2 separate regions of the Homo sapiens genome follow, and region 2 is linked to region 1. Evidence: promoter capture Hi-C in human tissues and cell types (Jung and others, 2019). All regions are on one chromosome and are shown on one strand. The core of a region is centred on a gene start or on the middle of the fragment in contact, and the rest is flanking DNA. Distances in the headings are between cores, read along the strand shown.

Region 1 (7,944 bases), core at 900-3,399:
GCGCTGAAACCACAGCGTACGACACCTCTCGCCAGGGACGGGCGTCTAGGTGTCCCCGTGAGGCGGCGACTACACCCCGCGCTGCGAGCACGTGTGTCGGAATGCACGTCGGCTCCGACCACACACCCACCAACGCACACTCGGATGCGGCCCTAGTACCCCTCCATCCCCCGGCCCGGGAGAAACTGGGAGACCATCCCAGAGCCCTCTGAACTGGGGACCCAGTGGCGCTCCCCGGAAGAGACAAGCTGAGGAAGACTCCCGGCCTCGCACTTCCCGGGGGGCTGCCCAGAGAGCGCTTCCCCTCACCCCACCGCCCAGCCCCGGGACGCCGGGGGCAGGTAACCCAACGAGGAGCGGGCCAAAGTGACGGGCAAGGCCAGGAACCCGAGGAGCCCGAGGGGCAAAAGCACGTTGGGCGACGGGAGGCAGCGACGGGCGCTTGGAGACGTGTCCTGGGGCTTCGGGGCCTCTCCGCAGGGCACCTCCCCCCTCGAGGGCAACTCGCACCCCGCGGGCCGGGCGGCTGCCCGCTCCCCACTGCCCGGTCAGCCCCAGCAGCGGAGACGCGGTGCGGCCCAGGGTGCTGTCGCTGCTGCCTGCGCGCCGCAGGGGATCAGCGCTGTGTGCGGAGAGGCTCTTGCGCATGGAAGGGGCGAGGTGCGGGTCGCGGGGCCCGGGAACCGCGGAGCCCGCCCCGGCACCAACTTCCCTACCGAGTCCTCGCGCCTAGCCGGGAAACACGGCTGGGCTGTCAGGACGGAGAAAGAGAAAAGCCCTTCCCGCGCGGGGATGCGCGGAGCCAGGGCCCGCGGGGCTCCAGACGAACGAGCCCGGGTCCCGGGTCCGCTGCAGCCTCCCTCCCGGCAGAGCCGCCCTGCGCCCCACCCCGCCGCTCCCGAGCCCGGGGGCCCGACAGCTGCGACGGTGGCAACTCGGGTTTCGCAAACAGGGCGCAGCCCCTCGGAGGAAAAGTTCCCGCAGTGGCCGCGGGCGGCGGGCACATACTCACTTTCTCCACTCGTCGGCCAGAGCGAGAGCGCGGCGGAGAGAAACAGGAGCCCCCACAGCGAGGTCGGGGACCCTCCTCCGGAGCCAGACTTCATTCCTTTTATTTGGGATGAAATTCCCCTTTCTCAAAAAAAAAAAAAAAAAAAAAAAAGAAAAGAAAAGAAAAAAAGGAAATGAAAGGAAACAAGTCTCAAACTCAGTCTTCGCTCCCCCTCCAAAAACAAGGGCGAAGGAAACAATACTCCGAAGGCGGCGCCGCCGGGGCCCTCCGGGTGCGCGGACGGGGCGGGCGGCGCGGGGCGGCCCCTCAGCGCCGGCAGCAGCGGCCCAGGGCTCGGCGGAGTCGGGAACCCGAGGCGCGCCGGGGCGGGCTGTCGGCGTCGTCGGCCTCCATTTTCAAACCCGGAGAGGCAGGAAGGGGGGAAAACTGCAAAGAAAGGGGGCAAAGCCCAAATCTGCCTAGGCGAGGAAAAACAAGCCCGGCCCTGGCCGCGCGGGAGGCGGCCGGACGCCCGAGCTTCCGCCGCGGGAGGGCGCGACGCAGTTCGCAAGATCGCCCCGAAGTCCGGGTCACAGGCGAGGCCGGCGAGGGGCAGAAACGCGGAGTCAAAATGAATGAGCGGCTCCCCCTCCTCCTCCTCCTCCTGGCTCCGCTCGCCGCCGCCTCCTCCCTCAGCGCCGCCGCCGCCGCGGCGAGCTCCTTCCCAAATCCAGGACACACACAAAGCGGCGGGCCGGCCGCGCCGCGCTCAGCACTCCCGCCGCGCCGCCCGGCTCTGCGCCGCCGCCCGCCCCGCGCCGGCCCCCGCCCGGCCCCCGCCCGCCGCCGCCTGCTCTGCGCGGGGGCTCCGGCTCGCTGAAGGTCACAGCCGAGGCGAGGCGCGCCGTGGAGCTGCCCCCGCGCGGGAGGGGCGTGGAGGGCGCGGGGGGATCCGGGGAGCGGGGCCGAGGGTCTGCGAGCGCCGGCCGTGGGCAGGCTCGCTGGCGGCGTCCCTCTCGCTCTCCCGCCTCTCTCGAGTTCGCCTGGTGCGCTCGCTCCTCCTCGGGTTTTTTCCCTTTTTTTTTCCGCTCAGCGGAGTTAATGCTGGTAAACAAGAGCCCCAGCCTCGCCGCGCCGCCGCCGCCGCTGCCACACACTGGGGGCTCGCGCGCGCGCGCGCGCCCTGGCCCGCGCACACGCGCCCGCTCGCACACTCGAGCGGCCACCGCCGCAGCAGCGGCGCGCCGAGGGCCCGGCCCAGGCCGGCGCGCGCAAAAAACCGGAGCCCGGTTCCCCAAGACGTGCGGAGCGGAGCCCGGGCGTGGGGCGCGAGACTGCGAGGCGCCGCCCCCATCTCCCGCCCCACCGCCTCCCGCGCGCACACAGAGACACGCGCGCGTGCCCACCCGCTCCCGCCCCCACCGCACTGCGCCGGCCACCCCGCACGCGCCCTCCCCTCCCGCCCGACTCCAAAAACAATGCCCCCGCCGCCGGTCCGGTCTCGGCGGGGCAGGGGTGGGTAGCCAGGGAAAGGCTAGGCAGGGGAGGGGTGGGCAGGAGAGGGGAGGGGTGGGCGGGGAGTGCGGGGCTGGGAGAGGTTCATTGAAAACAACAACAGCGCGGCTGGAAAGCGCGTTTCCCCGGTTCTTGAAAAGCTTCATTGTTTCTTGCAGCTGTTGCAAAATAAATAAATGCGTGCATGCGGCATTTTTTTCGCTGCGTACTGGAAAGCCCGAACGTGGCGGAAGGGGCGCACCTGGGAGAAAGGGGACCCCCCCCCCAGGCTACTACGCCGGGCACTTTCACGCCAGGCTGGGGTGCCCGCGGCGTTGCGACCGTGGAGCCCGGAGTTTGGGGGCTCAGGGGGAGCGGAGGGGGAAGGGCGCGGCCCGTGTGGCTCGGCCCAGAGTGGCTCGAGGAGAGAGGACCCCGCCGCCCCTCGCGGGCCCCGCGCCCCGGAAGGGGGGCCCAGACAGGCAGCGCCGCGTGCCCCGGGCGCGTCCCCGCGGCGGCCGCCAGAGGGCGCGGCGGGCGCTGGGGAGGGCAGCCCGCGGAGAGTCGCCTCCCTCCCTCCGGGGGAGGAAATGTGGGGGCCCGGGCTGGGGGCCGACTCGGCTGGGTCGCGCTGGCGTGGCCTCCCGGACCAGCCGCCCGCCCTGAGCGCTCTCCGCGGCCTCGCGCAGCTCAGGGCTCCACCACGTGGGCGGCTGCGGGGAGCGGCCGGGGCGCGTGCACGCTGCGGGTCTCCGAAGCTCGGGGGGCGTGTCCGGGTCCCGGGGCGCCGAGGAGGGGGTGGAGGCTGGGGCCGGGAAGCCTCCCTTGGCCGCGGTCCCGACCCGGGAACACGCCGCATGCACTCGGGATCAGCGGCTACTGCGGAAACCCACCCGCACCTGTCTCGGGTCCTCCCAGGCACGTTCCTCTTGCTTCGTTTGCTACGTAAGTGACTGGAAACCAGTACCGACCCTAAGTCTCCGCGGTTGTTTTCTTGAATGTGCAGGAGGAGAGGTTTCCCCAAAGCGAGACTCCCCTAGGACTGCCATCTAATGAATAAATGCTGCGGAGACCAGGTCCTCAAAGAGGGAAACAGCCCAGCAGTGGCAGGAGAGAGGAGTTTGAAATACGTGGACTTTTACAAACAGTGATTGGACCATGTGTCGCCCTTAATGTGGTCCGGTTTCATGACTCAGGCTAATTGATGCCAGTAATAAATTTTTTTAAGATAGCTAATAAAAGAGTTGTGAATTGTCGAGATAAGAAGTGGTTGTCTCAAACAATCGGGTAGGATGGTAGAAGGGACCTGATGTAAAGGAAGGTAGTAGGTTTCTTTTACTCTCTAATTCTAAAATACTTCTGCATTAGAACGTGTATCCATCGTTCGTAAATAATTTTTTAAGAGCTGAAAACAAGTCAAAAGCTATCATAACGGAAACTTAGCCCTTTTTTTCTAAAGTTGTTTCCTAGATCATTTTCCTCCTTGGAAATTTCTAGCTCAATTCAGAGTCAGTTGTATAGAAAGAAAATAAACCTTGTTTTACCTAAGAAAGTTATTCATATGATGGGATGGTTTTGTTTAACTGAAATTCAGCTTGATTTTTAAATAAAGAGTTTCAGTTTTGGATGTTCCTAGATTTAACAGTGAAATAAATTTATTAGAATCTTAAAATGTATTATTTAAAAATTAGGCACTACACATGAAGAATTAAAGTCCAGTCTACTAATTTTTAAATATTTCTTAAGTTCTCTGCATGAGGTTGGTCTTGATTCCTGCAGATCCACTCTGGAGTTAAATGCAAAGGAATATTGATATATAATTTCATTATACTTGATTTCAGAATTTTTAATACATACTTGTAAGACAAAAATTTAGAGCTGATTTTTAAAAGGCTAGTGCTAATATAAAATCTTCAAATACTACCCAATGTATTTTTAGTATTAGTAATAAATATGCCTGTTTATTTGTCCCCAAGAACATAAAGAGGTCTATAGAATTTTTAAATGTATATAGGTTGTTGTAGGGGTTGTAGGATTTGTTTTTGTGTGTTTTTTTTTTACTAAAATGATTTTTATTTGTGAATTTTTTAAATGTTTGTGTTTTCCTGAAGTAGTAGGAAATCAATCGTATTAAGTTATTTTAAACAGTGAAGTGGGAGATGTATCATTATATAGCTTAATATTTAGGGAAAAAAAAGGAACAAAAATTTAGGTTGTCTTTACGCTCTAACTTGACCACATGGACAAAGGAGGTGATTTGTATTTCTTCAATGATTATATTTTACATACACAAGTCAAACTTATTTTTTCAACCTTGAAATAAAATCATGTAGACAAAAATTAATTGGAGTCTTTGCTTTATACCCACATTGACAATGCACCAAACTTTTTATTTTATACCATTTTACTCAGGTATCTTATAGGTTCTCCCTCTTTTGGAGCAGAAACTGATTGCTTGTTTTCATTTTTTAAAAACGCCGTTTACTTGATAACAGTTTCATCTCAAATTATTCTGCTAAATGTACCAGACTCCCCAAAAAATGTAATGTATATCATATACATCAAGTGCAAACGTGAGAAACAGCACAACAATTGACAAGTATCAAGTAATACAGTATATTGTGATGTATTCGCAGAAAGGAATGTTAGCAGCAAAAGTGAATAAACTACAGCCCCACACAACATGGGCAGATCTTTGAAACACACTGAGTAAAAATATACAAATATCAAAAACGCACACAGCGTAACACCATTTTGATAAAGCTCTTAAAAAGCAAGGAAAACTTTAAAAGTTACAGAAAATTTTTTTTGCTTTAAATAATAAAATAATATTTTTCCTTTGTTTTGCTTTTGTTTTAGCAAAAGAATTAATGAAGGATGTGAATTCCTTTGGAGAGGATGAGAAGCCCATAGGCACATGGGTTTCCATTGTAATTTGGAAATGAGTTCACTCTTGGATTGAGTGACGGATTTACAAATTTCCATTTTATAAGTATGCTTAATAACTAACACATGTTCTACATATTTTTGTATGTATAAAACATTAAAGAAGATAAATAAAAATATGGGAGAGATCCATGAAAGAGATCATTCTGGTTTTCCAATGGGAGTCGTTCAGATTTCGAGCTGTCCGTATAAATAACTCAGAAGCATTAAAGATCTACTAAAATAACACAGTTAATCAAGGTCTGATCCTTAAGATATTTCAGAAGAATGTCCACACATCTAATATCGATGCAATTTAAGACAAAAATCAAAAGACAAAAAATTTAAAAGACCTCACTTCACAGGTAATAAGCTTCATTAAGAGTGCATTATGTCAACTGTTTGACAGTTTCTTATAAGGTAAAACATACAACTAACTTACGATCCAGCAAGTCTAGCCCTAGTTATTTACCCAAAAGAAATGAAAATTCCACAAAAATACTTCTATGGGAATGTCAATAGGTGCTTTGTTCATAATAGCAAAAACTAAAACAACCCAAATGTAAATCAAAAGGAGAATGGATAAACAAATCATGATATATCCATTCAATGCAATACTGCTTAGCAGTAAAAAGGAATGGACTACTAATCCATGCAAAAACATAAATGAGTCTCCAAAGCATAATGTATAAGCCAAAAGAGTACATACTGTATTAGCTCATTTATGTAAAGCTCAAAAACAGGCAAGATTGATCTAGAGCTAGAAATCAGAATCATGGCTGCCCTGGGTGGGTAGAGAGGGAAAGTTTCAAATGACTAGGGAGAGGCATAAAGAACTTTCTTGGGTGATGGCAATGCTCTATATCTTGATGGGGTGTTGGCTATGCTAGTATATGCATTTAGCAGAAACACATCAGACTGTACACTTAAGATGGGTGCACTTCATTCTGCATAATTGTATCTGAATGTTAAATTGTTAAGATTGTATTATAATTTAGATAGTTGCAGCTGTTCTAAAAAAAATGTTAGCACAATGCTTCCCGTTTTTACTATTAGGTGAGTTAGTAGAGATGCTAAACTCCAACATCCTTGCCCACAGCTGTCTACAGATGTGTATACTTTCAGTGTGTATCTGCCTAAGGTCTTTCCTTAGGGGCATTAGCTGTGGAAGGCATCACATGGTCTCCACAGAGCACCCCAAGGGCAGGAAAAATACAAGTGATGCTGTAGCTGATTCCTATCCCCACACAGCCACAAGCAACAAGAGTCTCAGTCTTGTTGAGGATCTGTTTATACTCAACTTGAGAAGATTTTCTATTTTAGCTCTGCATAGATAGCTGGCTCCCAAGGCATAAATGCTACATTTCTCCATGATGCTTTAAAAGCAACGTGGAGGTTTCAGAGAGCATTTGCGCAGAGACAGCTGAGATAATGTCTTCCTGTGACTAACTTTCGGCACCACGTTCAGTAAAACATCAATCGGGGAAGTTCCTGGAAAGCCCAGGCCTGGGCCAAGAGTGATAGGCACCCTGGAGATCTCCGTGGGTCCAAAATGGAAACTGGAGGCTTCTGGGGCTCCACCACTACCCTGAGCATCGTCACGAGCCTGTCCCCGACCTGAGGGTGGGTATGTTCAACTCCCCACATGGTAGTCTGGGAAAATAAACCCGACCAGGATAGCTGTAACGGCTCTGTCTTTTTCACTTGTCATTTGCGGTGGTTAGTCTCTGAGATGGGTGTGCCGTCTTCACTCCTCCATGTAATTAACTTTCAAACATATCAATAGTAAGGATCCCTGTCTGGCAGACAGTACAAAAGATGCTTCTTCGTTGTTGAAATGCATCATAGATGTACATGAAAAGTGGGGTTAAATCAAAATTTCTGTTCCCTCTGATTAATGCCACCAGCTCTGAGATGTTTTATCAGCAGCATGCCAGGAAGAGACAAGCTGCTCCTCTGCCCTACCCCGCCCTACTCTGCAAAGCTGTGTGACTCTGTGCAAGTGGCTTCACCTCTCTCTTTTCTCCTCTATGAAATGATCATGTTGACGTTGACCATTCCGCTCTAAAATATGACTTCTTTTTTTGATTTTTAATTGACAGTGGTACCTTGATATCTCATACTTTGGTTGTACATTTTGTACTTTTGCCTTCTCTGTCAAGTAATTAATAAATCTATAAATTAATACAGGCAACAGCAGCCAGGCTCAGGGAATAAACGCTTCCTAATTTGTTTTATTAATACAGATTTTTCACACATTAGAGGTTTTTTTTCTTTTCTTTTCTTTTTTTTTTTTTTTTTTTTTTTTTTTTTGAGACGATCTCACTCTGTCACCCAGGCTGGAGTGCTGGAGTGCAGTGGTGCAATCTTGGCTCCCACCTCAGCCTCCTGAGTAGCTGGAACTACAGGAGTGTGCCATCACACCCAGCTGTTTGTTTGTTTGTTTTTAATAGAGACAAGGTCTCACTATGTTGCCCCGGTGGGTCTGAAACTCCTGGGCTCAAGCGATCCACCCACCTTGGCATCCTAAAGTG
Region 2 (7,944 bases), core at 1,884-4,383, 680 kb after region 1:
AGGATTTTGTGCACCAAAACATGCACATTTTCAATTTCAAAATTTCTGCATCAAAATGAAAATTCCAAGGCCACGTTTTTGTTTTTTCAAACTAAAGAAGAGCAAGAGGGGAATAACCAAGCAAATAACAGCAGCTACATTTTTAATCTTCATTCCCAGGTATTTTCTGTTTCAATGTAGAATTCTCCACATTCATAAAATGATATCTTCAACCTACTGCTTACAGTCAGATATGCCAGTATCATTTCAATAAGGCAAGTCACACCTTTTAGCTATTCTCTTAAGTCCTACAGAGATAGTTTCACTTCAATTTCACAGGGACACTTCATGATTTATCTAATAAAGGTGATAAGACAATCCTAGTGAAGGATTCCTTTAAGTTGTTGCTTTTCTAGATGGAACCAAATAATTAAACTTTCTCTTCTCCATACTGGAGTTTGTTTCTTTCATTATGTTTTAGTATCATGGAGTCGAACAATGCCTTGGCAGGGCATGAACTATATAACTCAGAAGTCAATAAACAGTTGAAGATGATCTTTTCTAAAGTAAAAATCAACTGTTTAGACAACACTTAAATACACATTACCTGTTTAAAGACACACACACGAAAGCAAAATTTAAAAACCAAATCAAGGAATAACGTTTTGTGACAATTTCAGTAGCACAATTACTGGTCTAACAGTTTTGCATTGTGGGAATTTAAATAGCGGCTTACAATGAAAGAACTATGCACGATGCTTCCAGGATTGCAGAGGAGAGAGGTAAGCCCAGAGGATGAAAAGCATACATTTGCCTAATGTGTGTAGAAAATTCCCTGATCAAATGGCCAACTAACTTTTAAATACAAAATTTAACCTTAGAAGAACTTTTCTATTTTTGGTGAACATGCTGATTGAAAGAAAAATCAATCATTCTGTTAAATGAAGTACAGTATTCTGCAGGGGAAGCACCAGGGTTTCTGGATCAAACCCTTAGGACATGAAGAAAACCAAAGTACTCTGCTGGTTCAAAATCTGTATCACAGGAATCCCTGGCTCCCTTCCATGTGTCCAGAGATGCTCTCAGCTCACAAAACCAACAGATGGAAGGAAAAGCAAGTGAACATGTGACCATGTGGGAGGGGGGCTGGGGACGGTAAAACACTGCTCAGACTTTCAGCAGCAACACAATCCTGTTGGTCTGAATATCCTGAGGTTAAATGATAATAAAATATTGCACCAACACAATAAAGAAAATCACAGTTTAAACAGAATTACTGAAGAACTGGAATAATGTACAATGCAGTGACTGCCATCAGTAGACCTAGGTCTCTTGACAGGAATTAAAGTTGTGTCTTTTCTAAAAATGGCACTCCTACCTTCTTTTGGTTTGGTGTTTATTTTGACATTCTCTTAGGTATACATATATTTACTTCCATTTAACGCTAACTTACTGAATTTTCCCCTTGGCCCAGTTTCATATTTAGTGATAGATGAGACTGTGGCTGTAAACAGCAGCAACTCCCAAGAAGAGTACTCAGGGCGAGAGATTTAAAAACATATCTGATAACCCCATTAGAGGTAGGTTAGAAAAAGGCCTTTTATTTGGGACTGTGTAGTTATCAAGGCATCCTGCAGATGCAACCTTTTCTCTCCCTTCTTTCTCTTACATGCTCCTAGGTAAATAAGATATGAGGAAAATCAAACGTATATCCTGTTAAAGCACTTAAAGGGGGTAAAAAGTACAGCCCTCAACAAAACGTGTTTTCACATTGAAATTCATCTTTCCTCTTTGAACCGACAAGCTTTTCAAGAAACCCTTTCTTGGTTTCATAATACCGTACTGCCGATTTATAAACTATATTTTAGTCTACCCTTGAAAGAATGAAAACTGTAGTACTTCATTAGGACCTCATATGACCATGATCTCAAGAAAAGATGCTTTTTCAATGTCTTTAGGCCTGAATATGGTAGGAAATCATGAAGCACCCAAAGACTCAGGATCTCACTTCGTATTTGGAGTGGGCCATTCTCCTATGCACACACACCCTTGTTTTGTTGCCCTCTCCAAAATCAAGTCTTCACCCCTTCAGTTCATATCGCCTTCGTTCCACTCTTCACCATGGGAAACTCCCACAGTGTTTCCACTGTTTACAGATTCCTTTCTCTCACGTCAGCGCAGGCACCCTTTCACTTACTCTGTAACCATCAGGACTTCCATTACATTCTGTGACTTTGCACATCTTCATCCCAGTTTTTAACAGGGATATATATACGACCATCATATAAACTTGTGCGGCAATCCTGCCGGCCCACCAGAACTTTCTCACATTCTTTAATTTCTATTGCCTTCAGTCTTGACGTTCATTTATGTTTTCAAGTGAATCTTTCCTGTCTCTTTCCCAAAAAGGCAGAAGGAAAAGAACCAACATTCTAATTTGATGATGAACACAGTGATTTCTGAAATACGTTCAGAGAATGAAGGAAACAGGCTGGCTCTCTTCTACGTCGCTAGGATGTGGGTCAACCTGCAAAAAAAGAGCGGACTGAGATTAGTGTTGTAGCATTATTTAAAACGATTCTAGTACCTATTTGTAATTATATGATGGTTATATGCCAAGCTGGTCAGAGCCTGTGTAAGTCCCAGAAGGTGCTTAAGTTCTCTATATTCCATGGCCAAATAACACACCTTAAAGGCAATCCACAATACTGTATCTGATGCCATAGATCACAAGGACAATAGTAAAAAAATCTGGCAAATGAATCAGCGATAATCTATTACCACTGTATAAACAAATTTAAATGTATCCCTTACTAATTATGAGTCAGCAACAGACACTCTAATGAACGGATGACAAAAAATGATTATTTGAAAATAATACAGTAAAAGTCTAATTTTCTTTTGCTTTGCTTACCTCTGAATAAAGAGGTGGGGGTTGAAACCGGAATTCTTGTATACAGGCAAACACAGGACAGCACACTTCTCCCTCACAGTTAGGGGGTTGAGGGTAAGGAGGAATGTGTCTAGAGAATTCTTCCTCTGATACCACATCTGCATAATTTGGTGGTGCTGAAATAGAAATGAAGTTGGAGTTAAGAAATCCACTCAAAAATTAATCTCGATTCTTAACTGCTACAAAAACAAGAAACAGCTAAACTTGAAGATAAAAAATATGGCATTCTTTCCCTCTAATCAGCAAGGTTTTATGCATATTACAATAAAAAATAGATTCTCCTTTTATTAAACTACTACTAATAGCTTCTATTCTAGTCTCTTGAGATATAGGTAAACAAATATCACTGAAATATGACTATAGAAAAGACATAACACACCATACATTTGACTGTTTTTCATTGTTTTCCTATTACAAATAGGAATTAGGAAATGTACATCTTATTCCTGAATCTGCTATCAGCAGCTTTGCGTCCTAGATAAAGCTAAACTTTCAAAGTCCCTCCCAGGACTAATGCTTTCTGATTTTTTAGTAGTAGGAATAAAGATACCTATAGTAGCAGTACTCATCAACATCTGAGCACTTAATAGTGTATATATTCTGTTCCTAGGTATTTTCTAGGTAAAGCTTCGTTATGAAAGAACGCCAACATATTTTACCTTCAGGCTGCTCTGGCAGGGTCAGTGTCAACCAGCTCATATCCATACTGAACTGGCTGGCAATGCTGGAGTTTCTGCTGCCAAAACCATTATATGGAATTGTACCGATCACTAATGGCAGTTCGAGCATCAATTTTTTAGCACCAGGAATGTGAATGTATACCTAATAAGCCAAAAAAAAAAAAAAAAGAGAAAGGAACAAATGTAAGCTACACCTCCAGTAGGTAGCCCAATTAATTTCTTTTTTTCATAGAAACAAATGCTTTTGTCGGCTGCCACCACCCCCATCACAATTCTCAATTGTCTTGATTAAACAAAATGAAGAGTACACAAAACATAGTGAATGCTCTGTGACAGAGAACTGTGTCCTTAACATGCATCATTGTAGGTTTGCATGGCTTATATAATAATTATAGAAAATTAAGGCTATGTCTTCAATATAACAAACACCCCTTAATGCACCTCAATTCTTTTATGGCATTCTATTAAATCCCCTGTGGGGAATAGGTTTTATTAAAAACAAGGGCCAATCTTCATACAGTCCCCAATTGGTGTTAATGCTGAAATAAAATGACATTTTTATAGGCAACTCTACATACCCACAGTAACATGACATCAGTTATTGTCCATCATACACATTTTTTTTTAAAAAAGAGCTTTGCTTACAGCTAAGGAATAGTCCACTCTGATAATGCAGCAATCCAGGATGGATGGAGTAACAGGTGGGATTTTTAGCGTTTTCCCATTCCATGTGTCTGTGCTCCCAGAAGCGATGTGGTTTCCTCGCACATTGGCGACCATGTGTCGAATGGTCTTTGTTTTTCCACTAGCCAAATATGTCTGCGTTTGGAAAATAGCAGCCTTTGGAACAATCAGACGAGAGGAACAATTTTCTATTTCTGCATAGATTGGAATAGCTTCTCCTAAAAAGAAAACAAAACCAGGGAGGATTCAGAGACTCTTGAAAAAGTTCTCACCACAATGGATTAGGGCCGTATAGCTGAAATGTTCCAACATCACTTTAACAAATTGAGAAGCTTTGATGGAAAACATATTGTAAATTCAAGCCAGAGAAATAAAAATTCACTGCAGGTTGTGGTAGATCTTATTTTCTAATTATTGCATTATTGACTTTTCTAAAGTAGCAATATTGCATTAGCAATTCTAAAGATATGTAAATGACCAGTGTCTATATAAATTAGGATAAGACATACAAATAAATGATTCAGGACTATGTTAAGTATAAAAGATCACTAACAAACTCATTAGTGCTTATCAAATTAAAATCTGCCTAACAGGAGAACAAAGCCTTTGCTTTTAAGGAATTAATAATGTTAAGGCACAGAAAGAATCAACGGATGGATTAGGCAAGTTTTATAACATTATGGCTGCACATCATACCATTCCATACTGAATTCCTTTCTAACAAGTCAGAATCCTGGAGCAGGGGCCAAATCCACTGCTGGAAATGGGCCCTTCACTAATGGCAATTCCAGTAACAATCTGATTGTTAAGTTTGTTAATACACTACATTCCAGTCCCATGCATTTGCATATATCAAGCCAGCATGGAATCAGAATGTCTAATAGCATTTCATACTCCAGTAGTTCTCTTTTTAGCAATACAACCCTGGAGATTCTTTTGCAACATTAAAATCAGATGCTGGCATTTTCTCATTCCTCTAGTTATACTCTTTGTTACTAAAGTAACAGGATTGAAGTCAGAAAAAAAACAGGAGTTTGACTGGAAACAATTCCTCCTTTTAAAAATACTTAAATATCAATTATTTATATAAAAAATGTATCACTATTCATGTTTTAAAATACTATACACGTCATATAATTACAAAAAACACTATTTAAAATCACTTAAAATTAGCTAAGAAAATGAATGAAATCTTTCATTTGGACTTTCAAGCATTTTGCTTACCATTACAGTATCCCTTTCTTTCAATTTTGGCACTCAGCGAGACTGGACCAGAAGTGAAAAACCAACAGCCAACCATTTTCTCTTGAGTTTTCAATACAGGGGTCTTGAAAATTTCAAACAATAAAACAACCTTAATTAAGCCACTCTAGAGAACTCATAGAACTTAAAATTATATCTATCTTCACAGAATGGTTGTAAGGAAATACCAAAAAAATGAATCAAACTTTCTTATCCTCATGTAACATATTAGGCCAAATATGCACAAAAACACAGGGTGTTAAGACTCCCCTTTTAGGAAAACTACAGTGAATTTTCAGATTCAAAAATTAGCATGACACCATCTTATTTTACCCTGAAGTCATTATGTTTCCAGGAAATAATATACCATTTTTTTAAAAAAAAATCAAAAGCTGTATTAGGACTTATAAACATGACAGAATTATTTTTAAGACTTTATATATAAAAGTCAGGTGGAAGGATAAATGATATAAAAATAAAAAATAATCAGAACATTATATTTATTTTGGCATTTAATAAAGTGGAATAAACAAACAGCCTTTTCCCACCACTTACTTCAAAATGCATTATCAAGCAGAAATTTCATGTGTTCTTAATTTGGAGTGGTTTTGGGGTTTTGTGTAATAGTGCAATAACATGTGTAGTGTTAACCGATCTGAAAAGCTTATTAAACATACCCTCTCACTGCAGTATTCTATTCTATAGTGGCAAGAGAAGTTACTACAAGATTTACAATGTTCAGTTTACGAGTTACACACACCAAAGCTTTCTGTAAAACCCAGTTACTTGCAATATTTTTTTTTTATTTATATAAAGAATCGTAAGGGATCAACAGTGTCTGTTTTTGGCAAAGACAAATCCCTTTAAATCAATTCCCACAATGGTCATAAAAACTTTAAAAATATTCAGCCTCCCAATTCTAAGTAGTTTTTAAAAATACAAGCTACTTGGCATCACCAATTTTTCAAAAATGGTTTTCAAGCGGCTGTTAAAGTCCCAGCTATAAGCCAGGCCAGCTGGGTGCCGGCTGTTTTATGATTCTGACCACAAGAGGCCATGGAACCACAGCATATCTGCTATCTTTTCATAATCTAAAGGTGAACATTAAATTCTATTTCTTTCTCATGCGAAAATAAGACTTAAACAACAACTTCTAACTGCTAGCTTTTTCCTTGTCTTTAAAAACACAGGCTAGAAAAACCTCCAACATGAAAAATACATCTTTGTCACATCAGTATCGTGATGGAAAGTTTAAATTATCTCAGTATTTTCTATGAAGTAAAAAAAATCATTCATTCATATTTAAATGAAGAACCATTAGGTCCTAGTAGCTATCATGAAAGTACAAGGTATAATTTTATATTATTTTGATAATATGGGTTTAGATAAAAGAATCTAGCTCATTAGCTCCCATCTTGCCTATTCTGTTGTTACTTATAGCCTGATCTTTCTTATCAGTCTACAGTATTTCTGGTGATTATTAGAAGTTCAATGCTTTAATGTGGCCAAATCTGTCATAAGGAAATGATAAGTGAAAGGATCTCGGCGGCAGCTGCATGCACTTACTTAATGTTAGAAAATGACATGCAAAATGGAAGGATACATAGCATAATGGCCTGAGCTTCAATAACAGGCTGAGCATGATTAATACTCTTCCATAATTACTGTTCCTCAACCTGCTATTATTGAGGAGTTTAGAATACCCCAGTCCTGTAAATGTGGCCACTCTGGTAAAAGTAACTACTCTCTGTGTGTGCATTATTGTTATTAAGCCTTATTAATGCATTTCAAGCCTGTGTAACTTTTTGGCAAAAGAAGCCCTGAACAGCAGGGACATAATCAATAGTATTAACACACACAATTTGTAATTTGTCCAACCTAGAATCATATATTTATAGTGAATGCCTTTGGGTTACAAGATTGTGTTTTCCAAGCCATCAGAAAGTGACAGGACAGACTACCAGTAAACTGGCTAAATATAGATCCCACTGTTGAAAGGAAGGAGGAAGGGAGGGAAGGAGGAAAAGGAGGAGGAAGAGAAAAAGGAAGAACTTACTAATAATGCTGGTGTGTTGACATCGACATGACTAACAACCTGGAGTTCCCGCTTTACACTCTGATCAGGTACCTTGGGTCGTTCCAACACTGCCCGCACACAGTACTGAATGCTTCCATATTTCCCAGTAAACGAGGTGACCAAAGGTCTGAAACCAACCAAAGACATTAATTATGAGTTTACTTTTCAGTTAAACAAAGCCAAAAAAAGCATGGTTTAAAATGTTTTAGGTTGGAAATAAAAAAAGAGTAAGTCTATTTAGGGACTATTCAGTGTAAACATGCATACTTGAGAATCAGAAGAGACCTAGCAGTGATAAACTTGAATGGACATACTGCAGAGAAGGATAA

Evidence for each region. The method cuts DNA at HindIII sites, captures the fragments that hold promoters and counts their contacts. A contact is called where the count stands out against the background at its distance.
Region 2: a fragment that was not itself captured here is called in contact with the fragment with the promoter of IGF1R in region 1 in 1 of the 25 tissues and cell types used here (hippocampus).

What each region holds. Positions count from the first base shown.
Region 1 is chr15:98,642,744-98,650,687 of GRCh38, reverse strand. IGF1R (insulin like growth factor 1 receptor) reads right to left here and starts at 2,149. Exons shown (of 21, transcript NM_000875.5): 1 at 1,013-2,149. The coding sequence starts at 1,106. IRAIN (IGF1R antisense imprinted non-protein coding RNA) reads left to right here. Exons shown (of 1, transcript NR_126453.2): 1 at 1-4,825. RefSeq lists silencers at 2,125-2,394, 2,765-2,824, 2,885-3,354, 3,365-3,414 and an enhancer at 3,426-4,047. The HindIII fragment of the contact is 5,713 bases long and covers 1-4,215 here.
Region 2 is chr15:97,965,693-97,973,636 of GRCh38, reverse strand. ARRDC4 (arrestin domain containing 4) reads right to left here. Exons shown (of 8, transcript NM_183376.3): 3 at 7,595-7,742; 4 at 5,521-5,623; 5 at 4,258-4,514; 6 at 3,592-3,754; 7 at 2,894-3,048; 8 at 1-2,506. The coding sequence ends at 2,450. Among named protein-coding and RNA genes, the nearest start is that of ARRDC4, 9.0 kb to the right of the region's middle. RefSeq lists an enhancer at 2,026-3,225. The HindIII fragment of the contact is 4,565 bases long and covers 851-5,415 here.